Regions from separate parts of the Homo sapiens genome. Here region 2 is linked to region 1. The links are contacts of gene promoters, found by promoter capture Hi-C in blood cells and fetal thymus (Javierre and others, 2016). All regions are on one chromosome and are shown on one strand. Each heading gives the region's core, a stretch centred on a gene start or on the middle of the fragment in contact. The rest is flanking DNA. Distances are from core to core; before and after follow the strand shown.

Region 1 (6,169 bases), core at 2,713-5,212:
ACAGAAACACCACCCACATCTTCCTGAATCTGCTGATATTTAATTTGTTTGGCTTCAGTACAAGGATTAAACATTCTTGATTAACTTCAAGTGAAAGTAATAATGTATGAGCATGAGGAAATGTTTTACAAGACAAAGATACAGGTATAAATTAAAAGAAACATAAAATAACGTTATTGCCTGTAGGTGATGTTAAGCACCATTCTAATCAGGATAAGCAGGTGGTTCAATTTATGAGGCAATTTAGCTTTTCACTCTCCAATGCAGAATACAACACACCATATGCAGTCACCTTCCAAACAGGCAAGGAAGAGATTAAGTCCTATTTTTACTTTATGATACTGAGTCACATAGTTCAATGCAAATCACATGGATGCCAAAGTAAGAACAATACCAGGTATTAAAATACCTTCTTTCCTTTGCAGAGCTGCAGAGCTCTTAGGATTTTGTGACTGCAAGAAATTCCTTCAGAGTAACTCCAGGAGAAGAGACACATGTCACCAGATGGGTATTTAGGACTGAGCATGTCTTATCTCTCTCCCCCACTTCTGTCATTAGGCCTGGAAAGCCGTATTTGCAGCTTTTTGCATTTGGTAATAGCCTCCAGAAGCCTTCATTTTCTGGGCTACATTGTTTTTGAGGAAAAGAGGGCTTGCCTTTGAAAAATGTTATTGACTAATTTAATAATGACAGAAAGAAGAGGATAAATGTGGAACAGGGAAAGAGGAGAAAAGAGTAGTAGAGGTAGAGGTAGAGACAGGAGATGCCTAAATCTCTTTGGCCTTGATAAGTGTTTTCCATGCATTGTCCTTATAAATGGGTTTGATGCCCACCTTCCACTGGTCAGAAACTTGAACAAAGACCTTCAAGCCCTCTTTAAACATTTCCATAGAGGTGAAGACAGCAGCAATTCCATGGCTTGAACTAGCTTGAAAGAACTTCAGACAAGAACATCAACTCAACACTCTGAAGGTAGGAGGGAGCCCCCCAATAGAAAGATTTGTGATTTTACCTGACAATGCTCACACTCACTCTGAGCCTCTACACCATGGGGGAGTGTTAGTTGCCAAATTGTGACTGGTTTAACCTCTTTCCAGCAGAGGTCGCTGTGGACACTGGGAGTGGATACTTGTGGGAACTGGATCAGGCAGCCTGGGCTAGATAGATGGTGGCTACATTGTGTAGTACTTGCTCTTTCTGTTGTTCTCCTGGCCATCATCTGGTCTCTCATCCTATGGGAAGTAGATCTCTGTGAAGATTATCTCAAAGCTGCACAGTACCTTTGCTATGCAAGTGCTGTGAAATCAGGGTCACTTATTGGGGAGGGCAGGTCTGGGAGGGGCATGCTTATCCTCTAGGGGTATCACCTTGTAGTGTATGTCTGTGTTACCCTTGTTTCCTCTCTGAGGAAACAGTATTTCTGAGACACCTAGTATTTCTGAGACACTGCCTGTGACTGACCAGCAACGTCAGCGCCATGCCCTTCCAGACATGGAGGCCAAAGTGACAAAAGTTGCCTTGCAACGTAGTCCTGCACCCACATCATAAGTGACTCTGTTGATGAGTCCCCTGCCAAGCCTCACTTGGAAACACATGGTGGTGGTGAGGGGGCAGAATTCTGGTCTTTGGAGCAGCCTATTACAGTAGGATAAAGCTTCTGATAAAATGGGAAGGGCAGGGCACTGGTGAGTATGTCAGGGTCAGACCTGAGACCTCAGAAGGGCTGAAGAAGGCTCCACATAGTTGTGAATTCCCCACTTACTGGGCCTTTCGCAGGCCAGGCAGGCTAGGCACAAAGCAACCTGAAGCTACCTTCACCCTGAGGGCATCCACTCGGACCCTAGGTCATTGCTGTGGCTTGAGAGTTAAAGATGTGACTACCCTGCTCCCCACCCCCACAACATCCAAGCCCATCAGTAAATGAGTAAGTGGTTCATCTACACACACACACACACACACACACACACACACACACAGCCCGAAGCGCAAGCTCTGGCCGTGCCACACACATGAAGACTGAAACACACATGGGTACATTCATCTAGTCACACACATTCACACCCACACTCTGACCCACACCATCATCCATGCAAACCCTCACACACTTAAACACATCCCCTCCCCAGAACCAAATTTGACCTAACATGGCTGATGGGGCGTGGGAGGGTCCAGTCAGGATGTCCCTCTGGACCCTGGCCCACTCACGCCCTGTGAACTCCAGGCCCCTTGCTCAAGGTGGAGCCCCCACCTGTCCCTGTCCTAGTGGTCACAGGTCCTGAACACCCCCACTCTCGGCCCCCGAAGGGGCCCTGGTCACCATCGCGTGCACAGAATCCTGGGTGCCTGGCTGGCCTTAGGGTAGGGGGTATGGGAAAAGGGAAAGATGTGGGGGCATAGTGCCCTGCCCTGGCTCAGCCGCCTCCTCCCTCGGGATTTTCCATCCCGGCTCGCGCGGGCCCGCTAGAAGCCGGTGCGCTTTGTCTCCCGCCCCGCTCCTGGCACGTTTCCGTGGAAGCTGCCCGCGCCGCGCCCGAAGCCCCCCCTCCGCGGCCGCGCCCCCCGCCCAGCCCGCGGCGCAGGCCTGCCAGTGCGGCGACCGCCGCTTTGTCCTCTCGAGGATGCCTGGGCCGAGCGCGAAAGCCCCATGCCTTGGAACAGCCACCGCGCGTCCTGGAAGCAGGTCCCCGAGCCTCGGTTTGGGGTGCGCCCTGCATCGGAGCGGAGCAGCCCCCAAAGATTCGCGGGCACGAGGTTGGGGGTAGCGTCTACCTGGAGCTCTTGAGTGCTTGAGGGGAGACCCGCCCCGTCCCGCTCTGTACATGCCCATCTGGGATTGGCCCCCAGCTGCGGTGCCAGAGGCTCGGTCCCCGGGGCGTGGTGGGCTAGGGCGGGTCGTCTCGACTTAGAGCCCCAGGCCTGGATCCAGGTAGGGAGGGCCTGGGAGATAAGGCCCAGGTGGGGAGAGGTGGGGAGGGGTCCCTCCTGTCCTCGTACATCCCCCTACACTACCTCTCACACCCAGGCCACCCAACCCTCGGCGCGGGCCCGAGCGCGGGGGATTCCGAGTGTCAGTGCTTTCCTCCACCCGCGACTCCGAGAAGGATGGGGAGGGGTCTCCCAGCGTTTCCCTGCCACATTCCAATTCCACCCTTCACCAGTAACCTAGGAGGGTCCAAGTGGGAGGGGTAAGAGTCCTCTGTCTCTTCCACATCCTCGATCCTCCTCTTTACAAAACCCTAGGGCCAAGGGAGGAGGGGGGAATAGGGAGGGGGGCGAGTGTGGAGGAAGGGGCCTGGGCAAGGGTCTTCCCTGCATCCCAAGCAGCCCTTCCTGAATACCCCTGGGAGGGTCTGGGCTAGGGGAGCGGTCCGCGATCTCATCCATCACCACCAGACTCCTTTGTAACCTCGAGCAGCCGAAGTGTTGCGGGGAGGGGTCCCCCTGCCTCGAGTCCCTTCATCCCACAACACCTCATCCTCCCGTCCTGAGTAATCCGAGCAGCCCCGTCGCCAGGCACAGCGGGAGGGAGGGTCCAAGCCTCCTCGCTCTCCCAGGAGAGATGGGGGGTGGGGGTGACCCCCAGCCCTCGCCCCTCATACCCAAGAGCCTTCTCCATGATAAAACGAAAACTAACCCAAGCTGCTCCGACCTCCGGCGCCCGGCCACGGGAGGCCCCTAGTCAGTCGGCGGCTGTCCGGGACCCGCGGTCCTGAGAGCAACGAGAACACGTCCCGTCAACTCCCCAGCCCCTCACGCCTCGGTTCGCCCGCTCCCCAAGAAAACAAAAGCGAATTCAGCAGCACTGACCTCTGACGGCGGGCGGGAGGGCGGTCAGCGCCCGGCAGCGCACCCCGCTCCTCCCGGCTCCTCACAGCCCGGGCTCCCGGCCGCAGATCTGGCGGCGGCCGCAGCGGCGGCGGCTCTCGCGGCTCTCGGGTCCGGAGCCTCCCTCAGACTCAGCACCTGGAGCGGCGAACAGCTCCGCGCTTCATTCCTCTGACCCCGCCTCCCTCGCGCCGCCGGAGCCAATGGTGACCCGGACCCCGCCCAGGAGTCTGCCCATTGGGGGCGTCCTCCCCTCTCCCTCCGGCCCCGCCCGCAGGTTCCTGGGTCTCTCCTTCAAGACCACATCCCCCAGAGACCGGCGGAGTTTCGCACAGCCTTCTGGGACTTATAGTTCTTTAAGGACGCGGAGTGGGCTCACGCCGCGGGTAGGCAAACAGAGCGGGACTGCATTTCCCAGAGTGCACTGAAGACACGGAGGCGCGGAGCAGGGCGGGAGGACCGTTTCCATAGCAAAGACGACCAGCCGAGGATGGCTGGCGGAGGCGTGGGGCAGGCCGCAGGACCCTCGAAGGATCGTGTGAGACCCCGGGCAGCCTCTTGGGAGGCCATTTCGAGGAGAAAACCTTGATTTCTGCCTCAGGACCCTGGGCCTCAGTTTTCCTATCTGAGAAGAAGGGCGAAGAGCTGTGCCCCCGACCACACCCGTCGGTGATGGGGCAAACCGAGGGCAAGCAGGTTTGGTTCCTGCCCAGCAAAGGTGAGGGAGGACGGAGGAGACTCTCCCACCGCATTCAGAACTTTATTCCTTTATTTTTGTCTCAATCTTGTCATAGAGGAGCGCTTCACTTTTGGTCATCCCTTGGGCCACCAGGGCCTTCCCGTCTCCGTCTTCCCATCGCAGGTCCTGGCCTCCTTCACACCACTCCAGGATACCGCAGCATCTCCCCCAGCGCAGCAGACGGAGGGCGCTTCACATGCCCCCGGACCTAAGCCCACTCTCCCCTTCAAGATCTGGACTCCACTTTTTTGCAACACTCTTAACTTCTTTGGAAGCTGGGAAGCCTCCTACTCCCTTGGGCCTCTCCACCCTGCCCTCAGCTAACTCGTCGGCAAGCCCCAGCCTAGACATTGCCTGTTTTGTGAAGACATCTAGATGCTGGGCTGTCTGTTGAGTGCCCCACCCTGTGTTTGAGCAGCACCCTCTACTTCCCCTGTTCTACTTGCATGTTTATGTGCTCGTCTTCCTCATTATAAGATCCACAGGGGAGGGGCCATGTCTATATTATTCATACTTACAGTCCAGTGTCTAGTATCTGGCACGTAGTAGGCACTCACTAGCTATTGAGATATAAATATAGATATTTGTTGAATTGAAAATGAATTGGGCCGGGCGTGGTGGCTCACGCCTGTAATCCCAGAACTTTGGGAGGCCGAGGCAGGTGGATCACTAGGTCAGGAGTTCGAGACAAGTCTGACCAAAATGGTGAAACCCAGTCTCTACTAAAAATACAAAAATTAGCTGGGCGTGGTGGCACGTGCCTGTAATCCCAGCTATTCAGGAGGCTGAGGCGGGAGAATCGCTTGAACCCCGGGAGGTGGAGGTTGCAGTGAGTCGAGATTGCACCACTACACTCCAGCCTGGACAACAGAGTGAGACCCTGTCTCAAAAAAAAAAAAAAAAAAAGAGAAAAAGAATAAAATTAAAAAAAAGAAAATAAAGGAACCTCATTCACATACACCTCCAAAACTCTGATTTCCTAAAGTTGGGCATTTCTCATTGCTGGAGGTGTTCAGTTAGAGGCATGCCGCCCCCTTGAAGAAATGTTTATTTCATTTGTACAGTGGGTTGGGATTTTACCTGAATGCTTTGAGTACCCTTTTAATCCTATGATGCTAGAGATTGATAGACCCATGCCTATTATTCCTGTCAGTTCTCCCTGAAATGTCATCAGTTCTTCATGTTCCGCTATTTCTAGCTGTTGGCCCTACTCGTTTCTGTGCCTAAATGCCCTACCTCCCACTCCTTTTCTGAGAAAGATCTTCTGCCCTGTCAGTTATGAAGTAAAGATGTCCTAAGATTCCTGCTCTTTCTTTTTTCTTTCTTTCTTTCTCTCTCTTTTTTTTTTTTTTCGACGGAGTTTCGCTCTTGTTGCCTGGAGTGCAATGGCTGGAGTGCAATGGCGCGATCTCAGCTCACTGCAGCCTCTGCCACCTAGGCCCACCTTGGTCTCCCCAAGTGCTGGCATTACAGGTGTGAGCCACTGTGCCCGGCCTCCTGCTCTTCTTTCAACCCTCTGCTCAGCATCTTAGGCCTCATTGGTGATGTCCCACCTTGCTAGGTAGCATCTTTCCTGAATATTTCTCCACTAAACATTCTGATGTT
Region 2 (6,169 bases), core at 986-3,485, 71 kb after region 1:
GTCCCTTTAAGGATTTACTCATTGATCCCACTGAGAGAAGAATTATGAGGCCACTTGCTCAGTGTGACCAAAGGGGCCACAGAAGTGCCAGGTCAGGAGGCGGAATGAAAACCATACCCCAGAAAACAGAAGAGGAGGAGGCTGGGGAGGAAGGCGGTGGGTGGGTTGGGGGCAGGGAGGACCCTGAAGTCAGTTGCCTTGGGGAGAAACCCAGGGTCTGAAGGTAACCCAGACACTCTGTCCCCAGGGGGAGGGGTCTGGATCCCATTCTCCGAGTGGCCTGGGAGGAGACAGACGGTCTGGGAAGGCGAGGCAGTGCCCTAAGAACAGCCACACCAGCAAGCTTATCTCAGATGATTAAATGGCAGCAGATAAATTTAACTAAACGTGAGTAATGGGGACACAAAGGGGAAGTGAAGAGAAATAGAATATTTTAGCAACATAAGGAAATGAGAAGAAAATGACTTTGCAATGAAATGTCAAACTTCTGTGCCTGGAGGAGATGTAATCTGGTCATTGCAGGCCCAGGAGAGCGGGGGAGTCTGTAGTTATTTCAAGCAAATTTTAATTCACTTTAATTTAATAACATATGACCAAATACCTTTGAGAGAGTGGCAGGGGACAGAACTGGAAATCAGAGAGTGCCAGCCCTGTGAACTGAGGTGTTTCTTATTTGTTTTTTGCAAGAAGCTGTACTTATATTAATTCATTCATTAACCCATTCATTCAGGGCATGAATATTAAAGGCTGAGGATTAATAAAATATACAACTCAGCTTCCCCCCGGCTCACAGGAAATCCTGGCCAGCTAGGAAGACCGACAGATGAACAGAAAGTTGCAATGTAGGGGCCAGGTGCGGTGTCTTATATCTGTAATCCCAACACTTTGGGAGGCCAGTGTGACAGGATGACATGAGGCCAGTTAAAGACCAGCCTGGGCAACAAGCAAGATCCCATCTCTATAAAAAATACAAAAATTAACCGGGCATAGTGGGACACGCCTGTTGTCCTAGCTACGTGGGAGGCTGAGGCAGGAGGATTGGTTGAGCCCAGGAATTCAAGGCTGCAGTGAGTTATGATTTCACCACTGCACCACAGCCTGAGTGACAGAGTGAGGCCCTGTCTCAAAAAAAAAAAAAAAAAAGTTGCAATGTAGGGCCACATCCTGGGCCTAATACCTGGTGTTCAGTAGAAGTTTGTGGAATAAATACAGGATTGAAAGGGTGGTTTTGGGAAGGTGCCAGAAAGAGTGAACATCTAGCTGGGTCTTTTTCTTTTTGAGACGGAGCCTCGCTGTGTCGCCCAGGCTGGAGTGCTATGGCGCAATCTTGCTCACTGCAACCTTGGCTCCTGGGTTCAAGCAATTCTCCTGCCTCTGCCTCCCGAGTAGCTGGGATTATGAGCACCCGCCACCACACCTGGCTAATTTTTGTATTTTTGGTAGAGACGGGGTTTCACCATGTTGGCCAGGTTGGTCTCAAACTCCTGACCTCAAGTGATCCACCCGCCTCAGCCTCCCAAAGTGCTGGGATTACAGGCATAAGCCACTGTGCTCAGCCTTCTAGCTGGGTCTTGAAGGATGAATAAACTCACCAGGAAGGCAAGCAAGTCCAGGGCACATCCAGGGACTGCCTGTGACGAGGAGAAAAGGATCACGTGTAACAAGGAGATGCTGGTTACATTTGCTGGGCTGGGGAAGGTTGCCCAGGGAATGGGGACAGGGTGAGAAGAGGAAAAGGGCAAGGAGGGGCCCTGATGAGGAGTGACACTCAGGAAGGTAGACTCTGAAGAGAAGTCCTCCCCCACCCCTCAAGCCATCACTGAGATCTCTACCCCAGGCCAGCGCCTACTCATCCTTCAAGGCTCAAGCATCACTTCCTCCAGGAAGCCTTTCTGCCCAGCTCAGGCTGTGGTCCTCCCCCTTCCATGTGGTGCTCCCAGCACACTGCGCCACCAACCTTGTGACTGCCCACCTCCAGTCCTGTATTGGGTTGGCTTGTCTGTATGCTTGCCTGTCTCCCAACAGAGGCTGTATGCCCAGTTCTGGTGATGCTGCCCCACCCCATGCACTAGTGGCTCCCTGGATTCCGGCCGGGCTGTGCTGCCTATGGGATTCCATCACACAGATGCACGAGGCCTGTAAGGAAAAGTGGATCCCAAAGCCAGAGTCTGAGTCAAGGGTTGCTGGGGGTGGGGTGTGGACAGGGGGTTGGCCGAGGGAAGGGTATTTTACTCCACATCACATAAGATTTTTACACTCATTGCCAGGCACAGTGGCTCACGCCTGTAATCCCAGCACTTTGGGAGGCCGAGGCAGGTGGATCACTTGAGGTCAGGAGTTCAAGATCAGCCTGGCCAATATGGTGAAACTCCAGCTCTACTAAAAATACAAAAATTAGCCAGGCCTGGTGGTGCACCCCTGTAGCCCAGCTACTCTGGAGGCTGAGGCAGGAGAATCACTTGAACCCGGGAGGCGGAAGTTGCAGTGAGCCAAGATAGTGCCACTGCACTCCAGCCTGGGCGACAGAGCGAGACTCTGTCTCAGAAAAAAATAATAATAAATTGCACTCTCTCTTCTTTGTTTTTTTTTGTTTTGAGACAGAGTCTTTCTGTCGCCCAGGTTGGAGTGCAGTGGCATGATCTCGGCTCACTGCAGCCTCCGCCTCCCAGGTTCAAGCGATTCTCCTGCCTCAGCCTTCCAAGTAACTGGTATTACAGCGCCCACCACTACGCCTGGCTAATTTTTGCATTTTTAGTAGAGACGGGGTTTCATCATGTTGGCCAGGCTGGATAATCCACCCACCTCAGCCTCCCAAATAACTGGTATTACAGCGCCCACCACTACGCCCGGCTAATTTTTGTATTTTTAGTAGAGACGGGGTTTCACCATGGTGGCCAGGCTGGATAATCCACCCACCTCGGCCTCCCAAAGTGCTGGGATTACAGGCGTGAGCCACCGCGCCCGGCCAGACTTTTACACTCTCGAGAGGGACTTTGGAAGTGCCGTGGGTGACAGCCCTTCTGAAGTCCCCAGGACCCTGGCTGGAAGGGATGGGTAATTAGAGCTGTTGTGCCTGGGTGACAAAGCCAGAGAAGCCTGGTCCCTGGAGGAGAAACCGAAATGTCTGGAGAGGTGGGGCGGGTGGCCAGGCTCAGGGTAGAGAGAAGCAATACAGAGGCCAGGTAAGAGAGCCGCCCCCTCTCTGGACAGGGCTGCAGGTGAAATACGCCGCCCGAGGTAAAGGAAAGAACTGCAGGTTCCATAAGTGTCCGCTAGGGGGCTACCGAGGATACACCAGCTGGGTCGCCTTGGTAACCGCGGAGCTGCGAATGTGTTGTCCCCACGCGGTGGCGGGGAGGTACCAAGATCGCCCCAGGCGCGGCGTATCAGACGCTGGGGTGGGGGCGGGGGTCTGTGGCCATCAGCCCCAGGCAGGCCGTGAGCCCAGGCCAAGGTCCAGGCAGAGATGAAGGACCCAGCTTACTTTCACCTTCGTGTTTTCTCACCTCTGCTCAGGTCACACCTTCACTGGTTGAACTGGACTTAGCAGTTGTGGTAGGAAAAATTAAAATGGTGTTTTGGATCAGCCAAAACAGCTCCTGCATTGTACAGATGAAATAGCAACCCAGAGAGGGAAAGTCACTTGGAGATCACACAACAGCAGACCTGGAAACAGAGCGAAGAGAAAGTGGAACAGAATGGAAGAAAGCAAAGCAAATGAGCAAAGCCCAGTCAAGCAATGTGTTCACTTTATTATCATCATCATCATTATTATTATTATTATTATTTTGAGACAGGGTCTCACTCTGTCGCCCAGGCTAGAGTGCTGTGGTGCAATCATAGCTCACTGCAGCCTCAAACCTCGAACTACTGGGCTCAAGCCGTCCTTTCACCTTAGCCTTCCTCCTGTAGCTGAGACCACAGGCTCATGCTACCATGCCCAGCTAATTTTTGTATTTTTTGTAGAGACAGGCTCTTGCTTTGTTGCCCAGGCTGGTCTCGAACTCCTGACTTCATGTGATCCTCCGGACTCAGCTTCCCAAAGTGCTGGGATTAAAGGTTCGAGCCACTTCACTCAGCATTCTATTTTTTAAATTACCACTTTTGAATTTAAATAGTTTTAAGCATAAGCTTTTACCTGGTGAATTTAAGAAGACATAATGCTACAATGTAACTTAAGAATCCCTCCAGCAGATGACAGGCATCTTTTCCTTCCTATACCACATTCTTCCTCCTCCAACTAGTGTCTTTCTCTGGGCTTTAGTTTCATCTATACAATGAAGGAGCTGTCTTAGCTCTTCTCAAAAACCATTACTCTTTATAATAAAGCAAAGCCTCTGTGGTCCTACACTTTGGGAGGCCGAGGCGGGTGGATCATGAGGTCAGGAGTTTGAGATCAGCCTGGCCAACATGGTGAAACCCCCATCTCTACTAAAAATACAAAAATTAGCTGGGCGTGGTGGTGGGCACCTGTAATCCCAGCTACTCGGGAGGCTGAGGCAGGAAAATCACTTGAAACCAGAAGGCAGAGGTTGCAGTGAGCCGAGATTGCGCCACTGCACTCCAACCTGGGTGAAAGAGTGAAACTTCATCTCAAAATAAATAAATAAATAAATAAATAAATAAATAAATAAAGCCTTTATGTCATAAGCTTAGCTCAGTTAACTCAGCACACAGTTCGTGGGCACATAAGTGGGTAAGTTCCTCTTACAGACAGAACCTGCTTGGCTGTCAAATATCTCTGTAACTGGGCCCCTGGCAGGCCCAGCCTCAGGACAATCTAGACCAGGTTCTTGGATCCATGTATCTGGTTGTAATGTTGGAGGACATCAGCCATGAACAAAAACTATCTCGGCTATAATATTTGCAAGTTAATTAATTTGCAAGTTTATTTAAAAATTCAGATACAAGGCCAAGTGCCATGGCTCATGCCTGTAATCCCAGCGCTTTGGGAGGCCAAGGTGGGTGGATCACTTGAGTTCAGGAGTTTGAGACCAACCTGGCCGACATGGTGAAACCCCACCTCTACTAAAAATACAAAAATTAGCCAGGTGTGGTGGTGGGCACCTGTAATGCCAGCTACTCGGGAGGCTGAGACAGAGGAATCAATTGAACCTGGGAGGCGGAGGTGGCAGTGAGCTCAGATTGCACCACTGCACTCCAGCCTGGCGACAGAGCAAGACTCCGTCTCAAATAAATAAATAAATTCAGATACAAACATAATTCAATAAATATAGCATGAGAACAATCTTGTTTAATTTTTTATTTTTTATTTTTTTTGGAGACAAGTTCTCACTCTGTGGCCCAGGCTGGAGTGCACTGGTGCGATCTCGGCTCACTGCAACCTCTGCCTCCCGGGTCCAAGTGATTCTTGTGCCTCAGCCTCCCAAGTAACTGGGACTACAGGTGCATACCACGAGGCCCGGTTAATTTTTGTAGTTTTAGTAGAGATAGGGTTTCGCCATGTTGGCCAGGCTGGTCTCAAACTCCTGGGCTCAAGCAATCTGCCCGCCTCAGCCTCCCAAAGTGCTGGGATTACAGGCATGAGCCACTGCACCTGGCCCAAATTTGTTTAATTTCTAGTCCCTCACTCTTTCTCTGCCCTCCTTCTCTATCCTGTCCTTGGCTCATTTTGTCCACTTTCTTTCTTTTTTTTTTTTTTAAGATGGAGTCTTGCTCTGTTGCCCAGGCCTGGAGTGCAGTGGCATGATTTCGAACAGCCACCGGGCCAGGCTATTTTTAAAATATTTTTAGTAGAGTTGGGGTTTTGCCATGTTGGCCAGGCTTGTCTCGAACTCCTGGCCTCAAGCGATCTGCCTGCCTCGGCTTCTCAAAGTGCTGGGATTACAGACAAGAGCCACCATGCCCGGCCTTGTCCACTTTTTTGTTTCTAAACACAGTCCTCTGCTTGGCTGCAAAAACCCTCAGATGCCATCTGTGTCTTGAATGGCTGCGTGGGATCAGTCCCCTCCCCACAACCAGCCACATCCCAGGGTCATTGAATATCCTCGTCTCGGGGGCACAGAGGTATCTGGGGAAAGCCTTGCCTGGGTGGACATTCATGACTTCAAGCCCATGAGGAAAGCCTGTGATAAAAGAGACCAGGTGAGGGCAAACATGGGATGCTAGGGTGGCCGGAGTTGGTTCCCGCTGGTGGGTTCGTGGTCTC

The links. Contacts are between HindIII fragments. The CHiCAGO score rates a contact against its expected background, and 5 or more counts as called.
Region 2: a contact is called between a fragment that was not itself captured here and the fragment with the promoter of SMPD3 in region 1, in 2 of 17 cell types (monocytes and M2 macrophages). The highest score is 6.3, in monocytes.

Annotation. Positions count from the first base shown.
Region 1 is chr16:68,444,546-68,450,714 of GRCh38, forward strand. It overlaps SMPD3 (sphingomyelin phosphodiesterase 3), which reads right to left and starts at 3,963. Exons shown (of 9, transcript NM_018667.4): 1 at 3,808-3,963. LOC124903705 (a long non-coding RNA gene) reads left to right here and starts at 4,295. Exons shown (of 2, transcript XR_007065097.1): 1 at 4,295-4,521; 2 at 4,620-6,169. RefSeq lists a silencer at 3,661-4,180 and an enhancer at 4,281-4,330. The HindIII fragment of the contact is 11,512 bases long and covers 1,653-6,169 here.
Region 2 is chr16:68,517,518-68,523,686 of GRCh38, forward strand. No RefSeq gene overlaps it. Among named protein-coding and RNA genes, the nearest start is that of ZFP90, 19 kb to the right of the region's middle. RefSeq lists enhancers at 3,358-3,437, 3,458-3,507, 3,548-3,597. The HindIII fragment of the contact is 3,788 bases long and covers 342-4,129 here.